2 separate regions of the Homo sapiens genome follow, and region 2 is linked to region 1. The links are contacts of gene promoters, found by promoter capture Hi-C in blood cells and fetal thymus (Javierre and others, 2016). All regions are on one chromosome and are shown on one strand. The core of a region is centred on a gene start or on the middle of the fragment in contact, and the rest is flanking DNA. Distances in the headings are between cores, read along the strand shown. Region 1 holds the start of APC2 (APC regulator of Wnt signaling pathway 2). Region 2 overlaps ATP8B3 (ATPase phospholipid transporting 8B3).

Evidence for each region. Contacts are between HindIII fragments. The CHiCAGO score rates a contact against its expected background, and 5 or more counts as called.
Region 2: a contact is called between a fragment that was not itself captured here and the fragment with the promoter of APC2 in region 1, in 1 of 17 cell types (naive B cells). The highest score is 5.2, in naive B cells.

Annotation. Positions count from the first base shown.
Region 1 is chr19:1,444,504-1,451,370 of GRCh38, reverse strand. APC2 (APC regulator of Wnt signaling pathway 2) reads right to left here and starts at 1,250. Exons shown (of 15, transcript NM_005883.3): 1 at 1,033-1,250. RefSeq lists silencers at 1,204-1,403, 4,147-4,441, 5,091-5,140, 5,601-5,700, 5,751-6,140. The HindIII fragment of the contact is 28,474 bases long and covers 1-6,867 here.
Region 2 is chr19:1,791,445-1,798,311 of GRCh38, reverse strand. ATP8B3 (ATPase phospholipid transporting 8B3) reads left to right here. Exons shown (of 29, transcript NM_138813.4): 15 at 1,307-1,338; 16 at 1,433-1,601; 17 at 2,047-2,235; 18 at 2,325-2,437; 19 at 6,177-6,311; 20 at 6,451-6,562. Among named protein-coding and RNA genes, the nearest start is that of ATP8B3, 17 kb to the left of the region's middle. RefSeq lists enhancers at 1,078-1,889, 2,188-2,482, 1,890-2,702 and a silencer at 2,188-2,482. The HindIII fragment of the contact is 226 bases long and covers 3,429-3,654 here.

The DNA.
Region 1 (6,867 bases), core at 1-2,500:
GGTCACCATCCCATGCCCAGCCAGGTGGAAGGACCAGATGACGTGCAAAGCAACACATGTCTGCCTCCTGCTCCCCAAACCCAGGCCTCCCCCACGTGGTTCTTCTCAGCTGACCGAAGCCAAGCCTCAGACACCTTCCCTCTCCCCACATTCGGTGGTCATTTCTGCATCCTCATCAGACTAAGCTAGTCCCTCCAAGCTCTGCCCAGCGGGATCATGCCTCCCCCAGCTCCTGACACCCCTCTGTGAGGACATTCTGATCAGCCTCTTCCTGGCCTCCCACAGTCCCCCATGCACAGCCAGAGGGAGCTTTAAACGTCACAAGTGAGATCCCATTTCTCCCATGCTCAAACACCTTCCATGGCTCCCCAGTGCCCTCAGGATACGCTCCGACTCCTCCATGTACACCGCGACTCACTTAGAGGCTGGAGGCTCTCTTCTCTCAGGCCTTTGCACGTGCAGTTGCCCTGCCTAGAGCACCTTTTCTAAGTCCTGCCATCCCACACAGTGCAGCTTCTTCCACGAAGCTCTTCTGCCTACTTTCACCCCCAGGTTGCATCGTGTAGCCTCCTGGGGGCCTTCCTGAGCGATCACTCCCTGAAGGCACCATGACTGGGGGCTGGTCTTATTGAGCGGGCTGCATTTCAGGGGAGGGAGGCACAGGTATGGGAAGCCAGGCCCAAAGGGGCCTTTCTCCTTCCTTTAATCCAAACCCCCTCTTTCCAGAGAGGGAAACTGACACCCAGAGAGGTGCAGCAACACCCCCGAAGACACACCACTGGCCTGCCCATCCCTTCCTCCGATCACCTCAGGGAGGTCCGGATGGTGAAGCCCGTGAGTGGGTGTGTGCGCAGGACCGGCTGCAGAAACGCTGACGCCCAGCTCACCGGGACTCAGTTTCCCCTCCAGCTCCCACTCTGGGGAAATGGAGGGTCCAGAGTCTGTGCTGACGGGCAATGCTGAGAGCCAGGGATGGAAACCTCGACGCGAGGCGGAGGTCGCGCCCCTGCCCTCCTCCCCGAGGACACACACCCGCTTACGTGCAGCTGGGCTGGCGGGGCGCCTGGGTCTGGGGCCTCCTCCCTCTGCGCGGCTCCGCGGGCCCCACCGGAAATCCCGGCCCGGGGTGGCCTCGGAGCGCGCGGGCTCCGGGGTCTCCGCGGCGCGGGCAGGGGCTCCGGGGCGGACAAAGCCCGGTCCGGGCCTGGGCAGGCGGCGCTGCCGCTCCTAGCGCTGGGCGAGACCACCGCGAGCGGGGGAGGATGCGGGATGAGGGATGCGGGTGAGACAGCCAATGAGGGCGCGGGAAGACGGGCTGGTGCCATGGCAACAGCCAATGGCGGCCCGGGGCGGGGACCGGCGTCGGCCGCGGGGCGTCGGGCCTCCGCGCGGGCTCAGGGGCCGTGAGTGCGGGGGGCGAAACCCCCCCGAGGGAAGGGGGTGCCCCGAGGACCAAGATTCCTGTGTCCCGCACTTTATTGCAGGGTGCAACGGCCTCTTAAAACCTCCTGCGTCTGGATTTGCAGAATTGGAGAGTAAAACATCAAATCCTGGATGTTACATCAGCATCTTGGCGGGGGAGGGGTTTCCAGGGCAGTGGCCGGGCTGGGGCCAGGCCTGCACCCACCCCACAGGTCCAGCCTGGCCTGGTGCAGGTGCGTCAGGGTGGGACAGGGTTCGGGTCCAGGCTGGAGCTCCCTGAGGGTCCTGCCTGGTGGGGAGGGGAGAGGGGAGGAGGGGCAGGGCCACTGGGGAGCACCTGGGACGCTGCATCTCCCCACATTTCTCCCTGTCTCCCCAACGGAGCGTCAGATCCTCCTGTAACTCCGTTGCTCTTCATGTCCCTCTCTCTTTCTGTCTCCCCCTCTGTTCTCTGTCTCTCAATCTCTGTCTCCATGTGTCTCTGCCCCTGGTGGGTGGCACACTTAATTCACCCTCACGGACCGAAGGCCAGAGGAGGGAAGGGCCAGGGGTCCCAGGAGTCGCCATCTCCAGGTGTCCTGGATGCTCCATGAGTCCCTGGAAGCCATTTGAAGGTTTAACACACAGAGCCCGTCCCTGCAGCTCGGAGCAGCCCTTCCTGCTCTGGACACAGACTCACAGCACAGAAAGGGAGGCGACTGGGGCCAGAAGAGTGATTTTTTTCCGTGCTGGGCAGGCAGGGCAAATCATTCGCCGCTCAACCCTCGGTTTCCTCCTCTGTAAAATGGAGAGGAGGCGGAAGATTCTGCAAGGGCTGGTGCAGGGAATGATAGGAGAGGGTGGGAAGGTCCGAGTATTCAAGGCCCCGTAGACAAAGGCAAGGGAGGACCCGTGCTGTTTCCTGTTGGGCCTTGAGCTGAAGACCCGAGGGCCTTGTCCCGGGCCAGCACTGCCAGGGGCTGAGAGCCCTTCGGCCTGGCTGTCTGGGAGCCCCCAGAGCTGGACGCAGCTGTCCCCACTGGTTGGGTCTGGGGAGGCAATGCAGTGGGCAGACACAGGGGATCTTTTCTTTTTTCTTTTTCTTTTTTTTCTTTTTTTTTTTTTTGAGACGGAGTCTTGCTCTGTAGCCCAGGCTGGAGTGCAGTGGCACGTTCTCGGCTCACTGCAAGCTCCGCCTCCCAGGTTCACGCCATTCTCCTGCCTCAGCCTCCCGAGTAGCTGGGACTACAGGCGCCCGCCACCACGCCCAGGCTAATTTTTTGTATTTTTTAGTAGAGACGGGATTTCACGTTAGCCAGGATGGTCTCGATCTCCTGACCTCGTGATCCACCCGCCTCGGCCTCCCAAAGTGCTGGGATTACAGGCGTGAACCACCACGCCCGGCCTTTTTTTTTTTTTTTTTTTAGATGGGGTCTTGCTCTGTCCCCCAGGCTGCAGTGCAGTGGCGCCATCTCGGCTCACCGCAACCTCCGCCTCCTGGGTTCAAGTGATTCTCCTGCCTCAGACTCCTCAGTAACTGGGATTACAGGCATGTACCACCTTGCCAGCTAATTTTTGTATTTTTAATAGAGAGGGGGTTTCACCGTGTTGGTCGGGCTGGTCTCAAACTCCTGACCTCATGATCCGCCCGCCTCGAAGGGGATTTTTTTCTGGAGGCTGGAAGGCTGCCCTGAGAAGTGAACAGCAGTGATCAGGAGGAGAGGCGTTCCAGGCTGAGGGAAGATCAATGCATGCTTGGGACACAGGGGGTGTCTGGTGGAGCCATGGGGTAGGGCGCGTGGTGGGGTTTGACAGGTCAAGCCGGGGCAGAGCTGGGCGAGGCTGAAATGGGGTTGGGGATGCAGAGCCCAGGGCCCTGGCTTCAGCTCAGCCTTGTTGTCCCTGTGTCCCCCTGGGCATGTCTCTCTCTGGCCTCGGTTTCCAGTCTTGTTTACTGAAGGGTGGGTTGGATGATCCCTGCCTCCCCCAAAGAGGAACTAAGTCCCACCTCCCTGTGTAGTTTCAGATGTCTCAGCTCCCCAGGCCCCCATCAGGCAGGGGTTTGGGGGATCCAAGGTCAGTCCTGTCCTTGTATACATGGGGAAACTGAGGCCTGGGCCAGGGAACGTGTTGCCTGAGTTCACCTGTGCCAGCCAGGCCTCCGGAGTGACACTGAACCTCCCTTCTTATCCCTCTGGGGGTGGCCAGGGCCTGGAGGGCTGAGGGTACATGGGGGCTGAGACCCCAAGACAAGATGCCCTTGGCCCCAAATCTACAAAACATTATGTCCCTGAACAATCCCCCCCCACACACTAAAATCCTCGACCCTGTAAATCCTTGAACCACAGCCACACTCAGACATCACCAGACATTTCAGAGCCTCAAGAACCCCCCACAGCCCCCTAGGACTTCAGGAGACTGAGAGAGGTCTCCCCCTTCTCCCACTGCAGAACGCAGGGCCTAGCCCAAGACCCCGACCTAGGCTCCTCCCTGGGGTCCTCCACGCCCCCTACTGCTGCTGGGCTAAAGGGGAAGTTCCATGAAATGCTCACTCCCCCACCCCTGTCCTGTGACACCTCCCCGCAAGTCCGCAGCCTGGCACACGGCTCACTCTTGGAGTGTCTTTGAGCCTTCTGAGTCTGACCTCGAGCTGTCCCCGCCCCCTTGATGCCTCCTCTGTGCCAGGGGCTAGAGGCAGAAACAGGGGCGGCCCCCATCGGGAGCTGGGTGGGGACAGAGAAGGCACCAGGTCATCGCGGGAGGATAGAGACGGCCCGCCGCCGGCTGGGTGGCCGGGCAGAGCCCTGACCGGTGAGGAGGCCACCGGAGGTGGGGGAGGGTGGGGTAGGCCGGTCCAGGCCGCGCCCTGAAGCCTGACCGCCGCTATGGGCCTCAGTTTCCCCGGCGGCGAGTCGGCAGACGTGCGCCTCCGTCAGCACCGCGGACAGCTCCCCGGCCCCCGCCCCGCGTTCTCTTGCGGGCGCCTTAGCTCCGCAACGAGGCTCCGGCCTCGAAGCGTGACCTTGGGCTCCCCGCTGCACCCCCCAGCCTCAGTTTCCCCTCCAATGAGGGATGTCACAGCCGCGAAATTCAGACGATTCCGGAGGCTGGAGAAGCGCTGGGGTCGGGAGCGGACGGATACGAACAGCAGCGGCGGCGAACGTCAAAGCAGGCCATACGCTCGCGCCCAGAAGGGGAAACTGAGGCCCAAAGAAGCGCAGGGCGTGGCCCAGGCCCCCACCCTGCGCAGGGCCGAGCCTCCGCAGGATGCCCCCGCAGCCGCCCCCGCCGCCCCAGCTGGCGCAGCCTCCGCGTCGGCGCAGTGAGGAGGGGTCCGAGGGTCTCCTGCAGAGGCCGAGGGCTGGGCTGGGCGAGCCCTGCGCTTGCGCAGACCCGGGGCTGGGGGTCGCAGCGGCGCACGAGAGGGGCTTCCATCCCCGCCAGCCTTCCGAGGCGGTTTCCCGGCAACGGTCTCTACGGCGACGGCACTAGACCCCCGACTCTGCAGCCTCCGCGCGCTCGCCCCATGCGCCCCCCGCCGCCGCGCCCGCTGTTCCCGCGGTGTGGACCCCGCCCCGTTCCTGCGCGGCCCGGAGCCCTCCCCAACGGCTCGACCCACGCGCCCTACCTGGTCCCCGAAGAAGGCCGAGTGCAGCAGGCTCAGGAGCCCCAGGAGCCCCATGGAGCCGCGGCCGCCCCGGACCCGCCGCGCCCCGCCCCTCGGCGGCCAGGGTGGGGGTGCGGGACGCGAACGGGGCCGCCCTGCGCCTGCGCGGAGAGGGGCGGGAGGGGTCAGTCCGCGGGCCCGGGGCGGGGCTCCTCCCGAAAGGGGCGAGGGCGTACCGTGGGGTCTGGGGGTGCTCGCGGGGGCTGGGGAGTCTCGCGGGACCGAGGCTGCGGAGGGGCGGTGGGAGATCCAAGGATGGGAGAGAGGGGAGGGGACTCGCGTGGGCCGAGCGGCGCCAGGGTCCGGGTCCGACCACGCTGGGGAGTTCGAATGCGGAGGAGGCTGGGGGGGCCCGAGGCGGCGGGGAGGAGGCCGGGTGGGGGTGGGGGCACGAGAGGTCCCACGGGGAATGGGGGTCGCGGGGGGCCAGAGGCGGCGTCGCCATGCGGCTGTGGTCCGCTGCCCGCGGACGGTCACCCTGCGGAAGCTCGGAACCACCCCCGAATCAGCCCGGCTTGGCGCGCTGAGGTTCATTAGTCATTCAGCAAACATCACCTGCGCGCACAAGGCTTGCTGGGCGCCGAGCTGGGCGCGCGGGGGGCCGCCGTAAGGGGGCGACACCGAACGCGGACATTCATGCAACAAGCATTTATAAAGCACCTACTGTGTGCTGGGTCCCCCTGCACTGAACAAAACAAAATCCAGGCCCTTGGGAAGCTGACGTGAACGAGGGGACTGCAGCGGGCTGGGAGAGACGCCAGCGCGGCGGGCAGGGCATGGGGAGCTGCTGGGGAGGCCGAACAGCCCTGGGGAGTGTTGGGGGAGAGTGCAGCCCGCGAGGGCAGTGAGGGCTGGGAGGCCCCGGGGGGCAGGTCGCGCAGGCCCAGCGGGAGGTGGGAGCCACCGCGGGCTGTGGACAGAGCAGGGCCGCGCCCGGCTCCAGGCTCGCGGGCGCCCGCTGGCGGCTGCGGGGAGAACAGGCCGTGGGCGGTGCCGGGAGAGGAGGGCGGAGGCGGCTGCGCGGGTCGAGGGCCGGATGATCGGGCGGAAGATGCGGCCCGGGCAGGATGGGGGCTAAGAGGGGTGTTATGAATTGTGCAAAGTCCCTGGAAACCAAAGAACGAGCGGCCGGAGAAAGGGGCGCCGCTTTAGCAGGGCGGCGGGGACAGGCCGCCTCCAGCAGGTGCCTCAGCTGAACCCTGGAGCGGGGACGGAGCCGTGCGGCTGCCGGGGAGGCTTCGGGGCCACCCAGGACTCCTCCTTCAGAAGTCAGGGGAGGGCGCCGAGTTCAGTGTAAACTGCCGTCCAGGGGGGAGGCCGCGGGGATGTGAGAAGCGCCGGGAACCAGGACAGGGCCTGAAGGCAGCTGACCCGCAAGCGCCGGGGCCAGACCTGAACCTGATGAGGACGGAGCTGTCTGTCTGAGACGGCACAGATGGGGCCGGGCAGGTCTGGGAGAGTCCATGCAGATTCTGGAGCGGGGTGTGGGACCAGAGGGTAGAAACAGAAGCGTGGGGCCGGGCACGGTGGCTCCCGCCTGTAATCCCAGCATTTTGGGAGGCCGAAGCGGGTGGATCACTTGAGGTCAGGAGTTCGAGACCAGCCTGGCCAACATGGCAAAACCCCGTCTATACTAAAAATACAAAAAATTAACCGGCGTCTTGGCGCATGCCTGTAGTCTCAGCTAGTCGGGAGGCTGAGCAGAATCGCTTGAACCCAGGAGGCGGAGGTTGCAATGAGCTGAGATTCTGCCAGTGCACTCCAGCCTGGGCGGCAGAGCTAGACTCCGTCTCAGAAAA
Region 2 (6,867 bases), core at 2,292-4,791, 340 kb before region 1:
ACGTGGTTTGGACTGGGTCATAATTTAGTGTAGTGAGAAGTCCCCAAGAAATGGTTCAAGTTCAGCTATAGAAAAATGGGCCCGAGGTTGAGGCGGGTGGATCACCTGAGGTCAGGAGTTCGAGAGCAGCCTGGCCAACATGACAAAACCCCGTCTCTACTAAAAATACAAAAATTAGCCAGGCATGGTGGCAGGCACCTGTAGTCCCAGCTACTCAGGAGGCTGAGGCAGGAGAACTGCTTGAACCCGGAGGTGGAGGTTGCAGTGAGCCAAGGTCACGCCACTGCACTCCAGCAGCCTGGGTGATAGAGAGAGACTCCATCACACACACACACAAAAGACACCACAAAGGGGTGGCATGCACCTGTTGCCCCAGCAACTTGGAAGGCTGAAGAGGGAAGATGTCTTGAGCCCGGGAGGTTGAGGCTGCAGTGAGCTATGATCGCACCACTGCACTGCAGCCTGGGCCACAGAGTAGGACCCCATTTCTAAGAACAATAAAGCATAAAAAGTGGCTGGGTGCGGTGGCTACGCCTGTAATCCCAGCACTTTGGGAGGCTGAGGCGGGCGGATCACTGGAGGTCAGGAGTTTGAGACCAGCCTGGCCAACATGGTGAAACCCCATCTCTACTAAAAATACAAAAATGAGCCAGGCGTGGTGACATGAGCTTGTAATCCCAGCTACTCGGGAGGCTGAGACAGGAGAGTCACTTGAACCCAGGAGGCTGAGGTTGCAGTGAGCTGAGCTTGTGCCACTGCACTCCAGTCTGGGCGACAGAGCAGGACTCTGTCTCAAAAATAAATAAATAAATAAATAAATAAATAAATAAATAAATAAATAAAAATAAAAAAGAACAAAAACCCCAGGAGGAGGAAACAAAGTGTGTCCCACGGATGGGGCTGCATCCCGCTCCAGGCTGTCCTTTTGGGGTCCCTGGGAGACAGGAAGGGGCCACATCCCGCTCCAGGCTGTCCTTTTGGGGTCCCTAGCCCGCATCCCGCTCCAGGCTGTCCTTTTGGGGTCCCTGGGAGACGGGACGGGGCCGCATCCGGCTCCAGGCTGTCCTTTTGGGGTCCCTGGGAGACAGGATGGGTGTGCTCCCCTCTTCCCCGCTTTCTGCAGGTGGTGGAAACTGAGGTCAGCTTTCGCCCCAAGATTGCTCGGGGTGTCGGTTCCAGGGCCACAGGCCTGGCTTGTGTGGCTGCACCAGTGGCCCCCGGAAGCCTGAAACTAGGGGTCAGGGGCTATGGGATCCCGAATGGGGGGCCTGTGGGAGCTGAAGCAGGAAGCTGTGTCTTTCCCCAGGGCCGGATTCAGAGGCCACGACCCGACCTAAGGTGAGCCTGCCTGGCTTGCAGCGCGGGACGGTGAGGGGGACGGGGCACGGGGAGCGGCCCACCCACAGCCGGCCCGTGCCCCCGCCACCCCCAGGAGAACCCCTACCTCTGGAACAAGTTCGCCGACGGGAAGCTGCTCTTCCACAATGCGGCCCTGCTGCACCTCGTGCGGACCAACGGGGACGAGGCCGTGCGGGAGTTCTGGCGCCTGCTGGCCATCTGCCACACGGTGATGGTGCGGGAGAGCCCCCGTGAGCGCCCAGGTGCGCCCACCCACCTCCCCATCTCTGAGGCCGCTCAGCCCCCGGGGCACGGCAGTGTCCCCAGCCCCGCAGCTCACCCGGCCCATCTTCCAGGGCTTTCAGCTGGCTTGGGGGGCGCTGAGGCCGGTGTGACACCAGCCGCACCTCGAGGGCGTCCGGGCCTGGAGCCCAGACAGTGCTGACAAGCATCGTGGCGGGAGGGCGGACGTGTCATCGTCAGGGCTAAAGGATGTCCAGGCCTGCGGTCGGAGCCCGAGGATCTGTTGTTGAGCGGGAAGGTCGTCTAGTCTCAAGTGCTCACCTCCATGCATTGGGTTGTACAGGCGGGGGTCCCCGGCCACCATCAATAAAGGTGTAGCCCAGGCGATACCCATCTCCTCCCTGCACTGTGGAGATGGAGACGGGCTCCACCACGTGACCCCAAAATGGCCCCCCTCCCTACCAGACCAGCTGTTGTACCAGGCGGCCTCCCCCGACGAGGGGGCGCTGGTCACCGCAGCCCGGAACTTCGGCTACGTGTTCCTGTCCCGCACCCAGGACACCGTCACGATCATGGAGCTGGGGGAGGAACGGGTCTACCAGGTCCTGGCCATAATGGACTTCAACAGCACGCGCAAACGGATGTCGGTGCTGGGTGAGCCCCGCCACCCAAGCCCTGGGCCCCCCAAGGTGGGGCGGGCAGACGGGGAGCCTCTGTGGGCAGCAGGGCCTGTTCCCCCACAGTTCGAAAGCCAGAGGGCGCCATCTGCCTGTACACCAAGGGCGCCGACACGGTCATCTTCGAACGCTTGCACAGGAGGGGGGCAATGGAATTTGCCACAGAGGAGGCCTTGGCTGTGAGTCCCTTCAGGAAGGCTGGCTTATGTGTGTGTGTGTGTGTGTGTGTGTGTGTGTGTGTGTGTGTGTGTGTGTGTGTGTGTGTGTGTAGGGACAGGAGGAGGAGGAGGCAGGGGAGGAGACTGTACGGAGAAATGGAAGGCTGCAGGTACCTGGGATGGCTATGTACAGTGAGGTATGTTGTGCACTGTACAAAACACCCTCCCCCGGCAACACACAAAACACACACACACCGGCTGGGAGGCAGCTGAACTCCCAAGTGTAGCCCCCAGAGAGAGAGCGTCTTTTTCTTTTTCTTGTCTTGTCTTTCTTTTCTTTTCTTTGAGACAGAGTCTTGCTCTGTCGCCCAGGCTGGAGTGCAGTGGCACAGTCTTGGCTCGCTGCAACCTCCGCCTCCCGGGTTCAAGTGATTCTCCTGCCTCAGCCTCCCGAGGAGCTGGAATTACAGGCACACGCCAGTGCACCCAGCTAATTTTAATATTTTTAGTAGAGATGGGTTTTCGCCATGTGGGCCAGGCTGGTCTTGAACTCCTGACCTCAGGTGATCTGCCCCCTTGGCCTCCCAAAGTGCTGGGATTACAGACATGAGCCATCGCGCCCAGCCTGCCTTTTCTTTTTTGAGAGGGAGTCTTGCACTGTTGCCCAGGCTGGAGTGCAATGGTGCAATCTTGAGTCACTGCAACCTCTGCCTCCCAGGCTTAAGCTATCCTCCTGCCTCAGCCTCCTGAGTAGCTGAGACTACAGGCGCCCGCCACCACGCCCGGCCAATTTTGTATTTTTAGTAGAGATGGGGTTTCACCATGTTGCCAGGCTGGTCTCCAACTCGTGACCTCAGGTGATCCACCCGCCTCGCCCTCTCAAAGTGCTGGGATTACAGGCGTAGGCCACCGCGCCCGGCCAAGGGTGTATTTTTCTCATTTGCACAAGACGACCGTGCGGTTGAGCTGGCCCAGCTGCCAGGACACACTCAGCTCCGTCTGCTCCAAAGCTTCCCACTCTGTGGGGGAAGCCCGAACTCCTCGGCCCAGGATTTGAGGCTTTTTCTGTCCCCTGCTGACCTCTCCAGCCTGGTCTCTCTTTGGCCTCACCAAGGGACTCCCTAGGACCCAGTTTCTGGCTTGTGACTTCCCCACTCTCAGGTGCTGCCTTGGCACCTTTGCACATGCTGTTTCCTGTGCTGGGAGGGTCTTCCCTGCACCTTTGTCATTCAGAAGCTTTCGGTGTCCTCATGACTCAGCCACAAGCTCCCCACACATGGGGCCTTTCCTGCCCCACCCCCTGCCAACATGGGGCTGTCATCACCCCAGGCTGCCTCCCCCTGGTCCAGCCCTGACCCTACAGGGCCAGAGGATTCTGCGTCCAGCCTGGGGGCTCCTCACAGGTTCTGCTGGGGCCCCAGCAGCATGGAGCACAGGGCAGCGGGGTGTGTGTGGGAAGATGTCCTGTGTCCCCTGCTCTGCCAGGATGTGGGGGCACTCTGAACTGGAAGTGCGGTCACAATAATGACCTAGAGCCCAGGAGCTCAGCAGGTCAGCTTAGCTCAGCCACCCCAGGGAATGGATGGGTAAATTGAGGCCGGAAGAAGGGTCAAGGCCTGTCGGAGGCTGCCAATGTCCGTGAAGCTCCTCTGCTGTGTCAAGCCCAAGCTCTTGGACCCGTGCCCCATCAACAACAAAAGGGAAATCAGACATGGTGGCGCGTGCCTGTGGTCCCAGCACTTTGGGAGCCTGAGGCAGGAGGATCGCTTGAGTGCAGGAGGTGGAGGCTACAGCAAGCTGTGATCGCACCACTGCACTCCAGCCTGGGCGACAGGGCGAGACCCCTGTCTCTTAATAAACAGGCTGGCGCGATGGCTCACGCCTGTAATCCCAGTGCTTTGGGAGGCGGGCAGATCATTTGAGGTCAGGAGTTCGAGGCCAGCCTGACCAACCTGGTGAAACCCTGTCTCTACTAAAACTACAAAATCAGCCAGATGTGGTGGTGCAGGCCTGTAGTCTCAGCTACTCGGGAGGCTGAGGCAGGAGAATCGCTTGAACCCGGGAGGCAGAGCTTGCAGTGAGCCAAGATCGCGCCACTACACTCCAGCCTGGGCAACAGAGTGAGACTCCATCTCAAAAAATAAATAAATAAAAATAAATAAATAAACAAATTTGAGACCTAAGGCCACCCCTTGGAGCACAAAGCTGGGGGCAGGGTCGGGGGGTAAGAAGCCGTAAGGGCACCTTCCTTGGGGACCCCCCGACCACCCTTGGGGTGCCTGCTCTCTGGGCCTGCCCAGTTTCCTCCCAGCCCCTAGAGGCCCCAACCCTGGGTCTGGCCCTTGAGAAATGAGGGGCCCAAGGAAGGGGCTCAGAGAGCCAAAGTTGAGGGGTCAGAGGGAGGGGCCTGGGACTGGGGGAGCCCCAGCTGGGGAAGGCACCGGGTGGGTGGACTGCATAGAAGGTCTTGAGTGATAGTCAGAATTCGCCATGCAGGCCAGGTGTGGTGGCTTCTGCCTGTAATCTCAGCGTTTTGAGGCTCAGGTGTGCAGCTTGCTTGAGCTCTGGAGTTCGAGACCAGCCCAGGCAACATGGTGAAACCACCTCTATTTAAAAAATATATATATATACAAAGAAATTAGCCGGGTGTGATGGCATGTGCCTATGATCCCAGCTATTTGGAAGGTAGAGACAGGAGAATCACTTGAGCCCAGGAGTTCGAGGCTGCAGTGAGCTATGATTGGGCCACTGCACTCCAGCCTGGGTGACAAAGTGAGACCCTATCCCCCACCCCCGAGAAAAAAAAAAAAAAAGAATTTGCTGTGCAAAGCATAGGGAAGGTGTTCCTGGCAGGGAAACAGTCCTCCAAGAAGGTCTGGAGGCAAAAGAGAGCTGAGGGTCTGGGGGTGGGAGCAGGTGTCTGAGACAGAGTAGGTGGGGAGCAGGGGCAGCTCAGTTTTCTTTTCTTTTTTTTTTTTTTTGAAACAGAATCTTGCTCTGATACTCAGGCTGGAGTGCGATAGGGCGATCTCAGCTCACTGCAACCTCGGCCTCCCAGGTTCGAGGGATCCTCCCACCTCAGCCTCCTGAGTAGCTGGGATTCCAGGCATGCGCCACCACACCTGGCTAATTTTTTATGTGTTTCGAGTGGAGACGCGGTTTCACCGTATTGGTTAAGCTGGTCTCAAACTCCTGGCCTCAAGTGATCCGCCTGCCTCGGCCTCCCAAAGTGCTGGGATTACAGGTGTGAGCCACCACGCCCAGCCCTCTTCCCCGCTTTCTTTCTATTGTTTTTTCTATTTTTTTTTTTTTTTTTGAGATGGAGTCTCACTTTGTCGCCCAGGCTGGAGTGCAGTGGTGTGATCTCAGCTCGCTGCAACCTCCGCCTCCCAAGTTCAAGCAATTCTCCTGCCTCAGCCTCTCAAGTAGCTGGGACTACAGGCACCCACCACCATGCCTGGCTAATCTTTGTATTTTGGGTAGAGACAGGGTTTCACCATGTTGGCCAACCTGGTCTCAAACTCCTGGCCTCAAATGATCCGCCTGCCTCAGCCTCCCAAAGTGCTGGGATTGCAGGCGTGAGCCACCGTACCCGGCCTCAGACCAGTTTTCTGAATCCCTTCTGGCTGCTGTTGGCTGGGGAGGCAACAGGCTTTTGGTTGGGGGACCCAGGCTCCGGAGCCCGGCAGGGGGTTGGGGAGGGCTGAGCCTCGGATGTCGGCTTCAGCATGGTGACAGCTTCCACCTGCCCGGCCCCCAGGCCTTTGCCCAGGAGACCCTGCGGACACTGTGCCTGGCCTACAGGGAGGTGGCTGAGGACATTTACGAGGACTGGCAGCAGCGCCACCAGGAGGCCAGCCTCCTGCTGCAGAACCGGGCACAGGCCCTGCAACAGGTGTACAACGAGATGGAGCAGGACCTCAGGGTGGGTGGGCAGCGGGGGCACCCAAGGGGGCCCTGGGACTCTCCTGCCCCCGCCAGGGAGCTGGACGGCTGCTCAGCATCTTCCCCGCCCTGCCCTCCTCCCCCACCAGCTGCTGGGAGCCACAGCCATCGAGGACAGACTCCAGGACGGTGTCCCTGAAACCATCAAATGTCTCAAGAAGAGCAACATCAAAATATGGGTGCTCACCGGGGACAAGCAGGGTGAGTCCCGGGCAGCTCCGGGTGGCTAAGCCCCTGCAGCATGGGTCTTCAAACTTCCCTGAAGTTTGAAGGCTCACACCTGTCATCCCAGCACTTTGGGAGGCCGAGGCGGGCGGATCACTTGAGGTCAGAAGTTCGAGACCAGCAGGGCCAACATGGTCAAACCCCGTCTCTGCTAAAAATACAAAAATGGGCCTGGCCAGGTGTGGTGGTGCGCATCTGTAATCCCAGCTACTCAGGAGGCTGAGGCAGGAGAATCGCTTGAACCTGGGAGGCAGAGGTTGCAGTGAGCCAAGATCGCACCA